2 separate regions of the Homo sapiens genome follow, and region 2 is linked to region 1. Evidence: promoter capture Hi-C in 16 types of primary human blood cells and fetal thymus (Javierre and others, 2016). All regions are on one chromosome and are shown on one strand. The core of a region is centred on a gene start or on the middle of the fragment in contact, and the rest is flanking DNA. Distances in the headings are between cores, read along the strand shown. Region 1 holds the start of UNC5A (unc-5 netrin receptor A). Region 2 has its middle 8.6 kb from the start of LINC01574.

Region 1 (4,141 bases), core at 1,029-3,528:
ACTTTTTTTTTTTTTTTTTTTGAGACGGAGTCTTGCTTTGTCGCCCAGGCTGGAGTGCAGTGGCATGATCTTGGCTCACTGCAACGTCCGCCTCCCAGGTTAAAGCAATTCTCCCTGGCTCAGCCTCCTGAGTATCTGGGATTACAGGTGCCCACCACCACATCTGGCTGTGTGTGTGTGTGTGTGTGTGTGTGTGTGTGTGTGTGTGTGTATTTTTAGTAGAGATGGTGTTTCGCCATGTTGGCCAGGCTGGTCTCAAACCCCTGACCTCAAGCGATCCACCCACCTCAGCCTCCCAAAGTGCTGGGATTACGGTGTGACCCACCACACCCGGCCATCCCTTTAGACAGAGCATACACTATTATAATGTCATCTTATACCCCAGCCCTCAATCCTCTTCCTTCATCCTCAGCCACCAGCCTCCAGTGCCCAATCCCCAGTGGGCCCCAAGGGCAGATCCTGCCACTGACTCTCCTCTCCCACCCACCTCTTTCCTGCAGAGGCTGAAGAGGGGTGTTATGGTGCCAACAGGAGCAGCCTGGGCACACACTGCTCCTACACACACACACACACACACACACACACACACACACGAGACATGTGAGTTGATCAGGCCCTGACACCGTGTACATTCAAACTGCCCCGAAAGCAAAGTTCCCAAACCAGAAGGTGGTGAACACTTTCCCCTGGGCTCACATGAAGTCTAAAAAATTATTTTTTACTAGTTAAAAATTTTAAATCAGAATATTTCACATACGACGGCTTCTGTTGAAAATTTGGAAGATGCGGCTATACTGTGCCCCGGTCCCCTCCCCCGACAACCAGCACCTGGAGCAGAAAAGGCAGCTGCCCCTTGAGATGGGATCCTTGTGCCTGTCCCCAGCACTGCCCTTTGCCTCCCTGGCGATGGAGCCCAGCGTCTGTATGGTTGCCTCTGGAGCTTTAGCTGGTGTTTTTTATAGTAGACTTAAGAGGAAAGCAAAACATTTTTCATAACCCTTCTCTATCAAAAGTGGGAAACAAAAGACAGACCGAGAGAGGGCCTCGTGTCTCAAGAAATATAGGAGAGCTCATATCTCTTTGTGGAAGCAAGACCATCCCTTACATCGCCTAGCCTGCAGCGCCAATTTATATTATCGACCGGCCCCGTAGGCGTTTGAGTTTGCGACCCTGCCCTCACCCTGCTCATTCCCCTCCCGACCCAGACTAGGACCCTCTCTTTTTCCGATCACTCCCCCCAGGCACACCGCACGCGGCTGTCATTTCCTTTCTCCTTCAAGGCAGCCCTCTGTTTATTTTAACCCGATTAGGGAATGGGGGTGGGGCACAGGAGACTCCAGCAGCGGTCACTGCTGGAGGCTCCAGGAGACGACGTGACTTGACCAAGGTCACAGAGCTGGAAGGTGAAGTCGCCTGGACCCTACCCCCGGTCTCCCTAGCTGCCAAAGCCCAGCTCGTTCCTTTACACCCACGTCGCGGGCGCCGTGCGCTCTCGGGGCTCAAACACCGCGCGCCCAGTCGGGTGTGCTGCGCCTGAAGGTTGTTTTCCTTCGGCGAACGGCGCCGAGGGGTTAGGGAAACCTTGGGTCATGGTGTGAGGCGCGCCCCTGGAATCCACCAGCCTGCGAGGCTGGGACTGCGGGTGTCCCCGAGTCTGGCCTGCCAGCTCTGGTGGCCAGGGCACCTCTGCGCGCGGGCCAGGGCCCCGGGGCTCTCCCGCAGTCCCCTAACCAAGCCGCGGGCTGGCAGCGTACCGCGGCGCCCGGACGACCCCGGAGCGCGGCCGCGAGGAAAGGGCGGGGGAGAGGACTGCAGCGGAACCTGCCCGGGGCACCCCTGCCCTGGGCGGCTCTCCGCAGGCTGGCGCCGCGCCGGGGTCGCCGCAGCCCCGGGCCCCTCCCGGGCCACCTGTGCGCAGACTGGCGGGCCCGCGAGAGCCCGGATCCGGAGCACCGATCCACTCCGGGTTTCAGACTCCTGCCCCTGTCCCTGGAGACCCCGCGGGGCGGTGGGAGGCCTCCACGCCCACCACCCCAAGCCCCTCCCTGGGGGAGCCTCAGGCATCGCCCAGAGGGATTCCCGGTGCTGGGGGTGGCCCGCGCGCGCTGCGCGGGGCGGCCCGGCCCCTCCTTCCTTCCCCCGCCCCTCCCAGCCGCCGCCCCGCTCCGTCGCTCCAGTCCGGGTTTTGCGGCGCCCACCGGCCCGCTCTCCGGCTGCGGGCTCCGCGGCGCGGCTGGCTCGGTGCGCGGCGCGGCTGGCGCTGCGCTCCGCCCCGGCTGCATTGCTGCGCTCCCGTGCCCAAGGGAGCCACGCGCCGCGTGCGCCCGGCAGCCGGCCGCCCGGAGGCAGCGCAGTCCGCTGGCATGGGCCCCGGGGGCGCCCCGAGCTGGGGCTCCGGGCTGAGGCGCTAAAGCCGCCCTCCCGCCCGCGGGGCCCCGCGCCCGGCCCGCCCGCCTGCCCGCCCGCGGCCATGGCCGTCCGGCCCGGCCTGTGGCCAGCGCTCCTGGGCATAGTCCTCGCCGCTTGGCTCCGCGGCTCGGGTGAGTCACGCCGCGCGCGCTCTGGGGAGGCTTGCGGGGGACCGTGCGCGCGAACGCTCGCTGCTCTGGGGGTCCCTGACCAGCGCTGCCAGACCCGGCTGGGAGCCCCCCGAGGCCAAACTTTGCGAGGCGGGACGCGGGGGGCTCTTCTTGCTGCTGCGCAGCTTCCCCGCGCGCTCTCCCGGAAGCCTGGGTTCTGCCAAGTCCAGGAGCAGCTGTCAGCCCGCGGGGCTGGCGAGTGTAGACACCCCACGCCTCCGGGTGGGGGAAGTTTGCTGGTTGCCTGGGCCCGGAGCAGGGCTGGGGGTTTGGATCAACCCCAGGGAGCCTGACTTTGAGGATTCGAAGATTAGAGGGTTTTGAGCCTATCCCAGTGCCCAGGAAATGGGGGGTGCGGGGAACGTTTAAGATACCTCTTCCCGGTAGCATCTGCCCTAAACAGCCACTCACAATCTCCCAGCTTGGCACCTGGCCTCTGCCCACGTCCAGAACACAGTGTCCTCCTCTGTCCCCGCCACACACGCTCTCACACGCACACACTCAGGCGTGGAGGCGCATACACCAGCCCCCAGTCCTTGCAGCCAGCACAGTCAAAGCGCCGCGGTCCCGGTGGCCGGGGCTGTGGCTCCTGGCCTCCCTGGTGCGGGGGGCCAGAGTTGTGTGTGGTTGGTCCGCCAGTTTCCCCTTCTTCCTTAAACTCCATAGCCTTTCTTGGCCCCTGCATGCCCCATTGGTCACCCTAACCCACTGCTAACTCAGCCCTCAGCCCACCTCATTCCCTTGGGAGGGGCTTGGGGGGAGGAAGTTCCCCTGCATCCTTTGTCTGCTGTCCCTGAGCCTTCACCTAGGCTGAGCTGTGGGGGCCTCCTGATCTCTGCCCCCCATGCACTTAGCTGAGTTGAGCGTATGTGTCTGTGGTGGTGGGGGGTGGGTGCCATTTGTGTGGTCAAGGGGGCTTGAGGCTTACCCTGGCAATTCTCGATTCTTGCTGCCCCTAGAACCTGGGCGGTTACTCCCCAGCCTGGCCAGGCCGCTGCTTATAACAGGGGTGTTGGAAGGGAGCACTGGGGTTTCTGAGCTGCCAAACCAGATTGATCAGAGATCAATGAGTGGGAGCTCAGGAGCCAGCCTGATGATTGAGGCCGATGGCTGTTTCCTTAAAGGGTGTCTCTGCGCAGCGCATCCTGCACCCACCACTGCCTGACCGCCCGCCCCATCCTGCCTCCTCAGTACCCCTCTCTACTCCATCCCACCCCTTCTATCTCCCTTCTCCATCAGCACCCCTCTTCTTCCCCAGGGCCTCTCCTTCTAATCCTGACCAAGCTGAGAGGCTGAACTGCTGTTGGGTGTGTGTCCGTGTCCGCCACATGTGTGTGTTAGGGGCGTGTGTGCAGCTCCGCAGATGAGCACCCGGGTGCAGGTTGCACTGTTGTCCATGATGAGGTGGGGATATTAGTGCCCCACACACAGGTGGGGTGTTGCCTGACACCCAGTAGGTACCCTGGAAATGTTTTCTGAGTTGATGCTTTTGAGGGCTGTGTGGTCATAGCTGCATGTCGCCCACGTGAGCACGTGTGAAGGCTGTGGGTTGACATGTGTGC
Region 2 (4,171 bases), core at 611-3,110, 59 kb before region 1:
ATCTCAAAGATGTGCTGGAGTTTCCCAGAACGAGGTCAATTTGTCCACCAGACCAGAAGCTTCCTGTGTGTGCTTTATCTCACCACTGGCAGCCCAGGGCCCCGCAGAGAACTGCCACTCAGTAGGTCTTCGTTGGTATTTGCTGAAGAAACAAGTCTGCCCCTAAACAGAGAAGGTGGCAAGGTAGTTACTATCTGGCTTGGAGATTATGTATGAGTTGATTGGTCACGTCAAAAGTCAAAATTAAATCTATCCAGATGCCATAGTTAAAAGGGCCCAATGATGTATTGGTTGGGTGATTTCTTTTGTGAAAACAGCTCTAAAGCGTTATCCATTTTTCTCTCCAGAGCTCACTTTAAATGTGTTCCATTTTGGACTTTAGAATTTATTTTAGGGCTCCCACAGTATCTTTGCTCTCTGAGACTTGCAATGGCTCTGGGCTAAAAGCAATAGCCAACTTCAGAAGGGGAAGGAGAAAGGCTCTGCGTCGCAGATTGCAGCCTCCAAAAGGGGAAAATTTTCCAGAGACCTCCGGTGGTGGCTACGGCAAAGTTCTCTTCTGTCTGGGGGCCATCTCAGGCCCCCTTTCATCCAAGGAAGCAAACATTTCTGCACAAAAACAATCCTCAGCCACAAAGCCAGAGCTTTCTGAGCATGTGGATCAGTCGGAATGCTCCAGCAATAATGAGTAACTTTGAATAATGCTTGAGCAAAGTTTCCCAGCAGCTGAGCGGAGGCCGTGGGTTCGCCGGGAGCACTGCAGGCCCTTGGTCCTGTCCCCAGGGCTGCTCATGGAGGATGGAGGAGCATGCAAACAGCACTTTAAGTGATCATCGCTGATCCTTTCTGTTCCTCTGTATCAGAAAAAATACTCTAGCACAGCAAACCTGTGATTTCTCCAACATTCTTATTCAAGACAAGGAGAAACTAGGTATTTAAATGAACTGAAACAAATAAGTAAATAATACCGCGTGTGGTACAAGGGTATAGCGAAAATCATGAGTGTATCATGCAAATGACTAAAGTTTGGGAGATGTGGCTTTTTGTCACATAGCCGTGGTCCTCAGCATGAAAGCACACACACTCTGAGCTCCCTGCTCCTGCCTTCTGTGATCAATGTTTCTAAAGCCCGTGGGCAGCCAGAAATCAGAGTACAATAAATATGTGCAATGGAATGTGGAGGGAGAGTGCAATGAGGATGTTTTTTGGTCTCAATAACAATTTTTTCTTTGGTCTCACCTACAAAGTAGAAGGTCACTAATCCATGAATTGCAGATCAAAAGGAAACTTTGAGACCATGTGGTGAATCAAGCATTCTCACCCTATTTCACAGACGAGGAGACTGAGTCTCAGAGGAGAAGGGGACTTGCCTAAGATTATACAGCAAGTGAGAACTGGCCCTAGAAAGCAATTTTTAGATCAAAAACAACAGCCTAAATTCCTGGACGTATAACACATGCCTACAAATCAATAAGAAAGAACCAGTCGAAAAACGGGGTAAGGATTTCAGAGAAAATACAAACATCATTTAAACATCAGAAAAGATGCTCAACTCCGGGCATAATAGACACACACGTTAAAATTATACTGACACATCTGCTTCTAGCTATGATGGACTAGCCTGCATCAGACCAATCACCCTGCTGGGAGCAATTCGGAAGGCTGGATGAAATACTACAGAAACAGCTGTTTGAAGATACTGGAGAGGCACCAAGGGTCCCAGATCCCAGATCCCAGAGAGGAGGGAAGCTCACAGAGGGGAGCCTGCTGTTCGGCAGAGCTCTGTCCCCTGCAGTGTTTGCCACTTCTGAGCAGTGCCTGAGAGGCTGAGAAGCACGTTAGCCATCTCATGGGGCTGGGGAGACAAAAACTGGAATCCAGGGCCTCTTGAGAAATAAGGACCCTATCTATATCCCCATATTCAGAACAGCACGACAAAATAGCTTAAAGGCAGAAGCAACTCAAGCGCCCATCGACAGATGAAAAAGGATAAACAAAATGTGGCATATACACTCAAGGGAACATTACTCAGCTTTAAAAAGGAAGGAAGTTCTGACACACGGTACGATGTGGATGAACCTAGACAACGTTACGCTAAGTGAAGTCAGCCAGTTGCATGAAGACAAATACTGCATGATTCCACTTACGTGAGATATTCAGAGTAATCACCTTCATAGAGACAGAAAGTGGAATGGTAGTTGCCAGGGGCTTGAAGGAGGTGGAATTAGGAGTTAGTGTTTAATAGATGTGGCGTTTCACTTGGGGATGATGGAAAGAGTTCTGGAGATGGATGGTGCTGATGGCTGCACAACAATGGGAAGGTACTTAATGCACTGACATACACACTTAAACAGGGTTAAGATGGTAAATCTTATGTTCTGTGTATTTCAGAACAATTTTTCTAAAAGCAAGAACGTTGGTAAATAGCCTAGGCTTTCATCCGGGATCCCAAAGCACTATACCCTAGAAGTAAGTTAGCCAGAACGAAACCGGCCCTTTCAGGGACTGCAGGCCTGTTTCAAATCATCTTAATTCCTGGTTGGATAAATGCAATTTAAGATTGATGCTGCCCCTGGCTTAGCAGAAGTTAAAGTAAATCCTCCCTGGAGGAGGATAACAGCATCCAGAGCCTCAAATTACCTTTTCCATGTTCATTTATTATGTCTGATATTCAGTGAAAAACAGAAATGCAGAAATACAAGAACGGGATGAAAACCAAGAGAAAAATAACACATTACAAACATATCCACGTGGTCTCAGATATTCGAGGTACCATAGTTGGCCTTTGAAATAACTGTAATTAGTATATTCAAGAAGCTAGATAACAAGAACGGGAATTTCAGCAGAGAACTAGAAACTATTAGAAAAAAGAATCAAATGGAAATTCTAAAAATAAAAAAGGGGGTGATAAATTTGACAGAAGATGTGTAAGATCTGCACATATAAAACTCAAAACATTGCTGAGAGAAATTAAAGGAAATATAAATACAGAAATACATTGCGTTCATGGATTGGAAGATTCAATGTGGTTAAGATGTTGATTCTCCCAAACTCATCTATAAAAACAATTTTTTTTTTTTTTGGTGGAGATTGACAAGCTCATTCTAAAATCTCTATGGAATGATCTAGAATAACCAAACATTTTGAAAAAGAAGAATAAGATGGGGAATTTACACTACCTTATTTCGAGACATTATTAAAGCTACAATAGTCAAGACAGTGTGGTATTGGTATAAAGATAGACATCTAGATCAATGGAACAGAAGAATGATTCAAGAAACAGACCACAGCTGTTGATTTTTGAAAAAGATACCAAGGCAATTAATGAATAAAGGATATTCTTTTCAACAACTGATGCTAGAACACTTGGATAAACATATGTAAAAAGATAAAAATAAAATTTAAAAGAAACCTTGACCTTATCTCACACCGTATACAAACTGAAATGGTCTATGATCCTTGAAATTAGGGTCTATGATCCTCATAAAGTAGGCCTAAAAAATTAGATGTATGGTCCTTGAAATGGATCATAGACCAAAATGTAAAAGCAAAGCTATAAAACTTCTAGAAGAAAATCTTAGCAATCTTGGGTTTGGTAAAGTTTTCTTAAATATGACAAAAACAATGACATATACAAGAAAAATAATAAAATGGACTTCACTAAGCTTAAAATATTTAGTCTTTAAAAGACACTATTCTGTTTGGCAGTTTCTTAAATATATACTTGCCATATGACTTAGCAATTCTTCTAGAAGAAAAGATGTGTTCACACAAAGACTTGCATGTGATTGCTAATGACAACTTTAATTATAATAGGCAAAAACTGGAAACAATTCAAATGTCCATCAAATGGTAAATTCATAAGCAAAGTATGGTATATTCACATAATGGAATACTACTCAGCAATGAAATGAGTTATTGATAGATGCAACAAGATATAGATGAATCTCAAAAACATTATGCTAAGTGAGAGAAGCCAGACACAAAAGGATATATGTGTATATATTTTTAGAGACAAGGTCTCACTCTGTTGCCCAGGCTGAAGTGCAGTAGCTCACGATAACCTTGAACACCTGTGCTTAAGTGATCCTCCCACCTCGGCTTCCCGAATAGCTGGGACTACAGGCGTCCTCCACCATGCCTGGCTAGTTTTTCAAATTTTTTGTAAAGA

What was found. The method cuts DNA at HindIII sites, captures the fragments that hold promoters and counts their contacts. A CHiCAGO score of 5 or more calls a contact.
Region 2: a fragment that was not itself captured here is called in contact with the fragment with the promoter of UNC5A in region 1 in 1 of 17 cell types (endothelial precursors); the score reaches 5.1 in endothelial precursors.

The regions. Positions count from the first base shown.
Region 1 is chr5:176,808,281-176,812,421 of GRCh38, forward strand. It overlaps UNC5A (unc-5 netrin receptor A), which reads left to right and starts at 2,279. Exons shown (of 15, transcript NM_133369.3): 1 at 2,279-2,540. The coding sequence starts at 2,471. The HindIII fragment of the contact is 10,823 bases long and covers 1-4,141 here.
Region 2 is chr5:176,749,675-176,753,845 of GRCh38, forward strand. No RefSeq gene overlaps it. Among named protein-coding and RNA genes, the nearest start is that of LINC01574, 8.6 kb to the left of the region's middle. RefSeq lists an enhancer at 1-100. The HindIII fragment of the contact is 3,606 bases long and covers 58-3,663 here.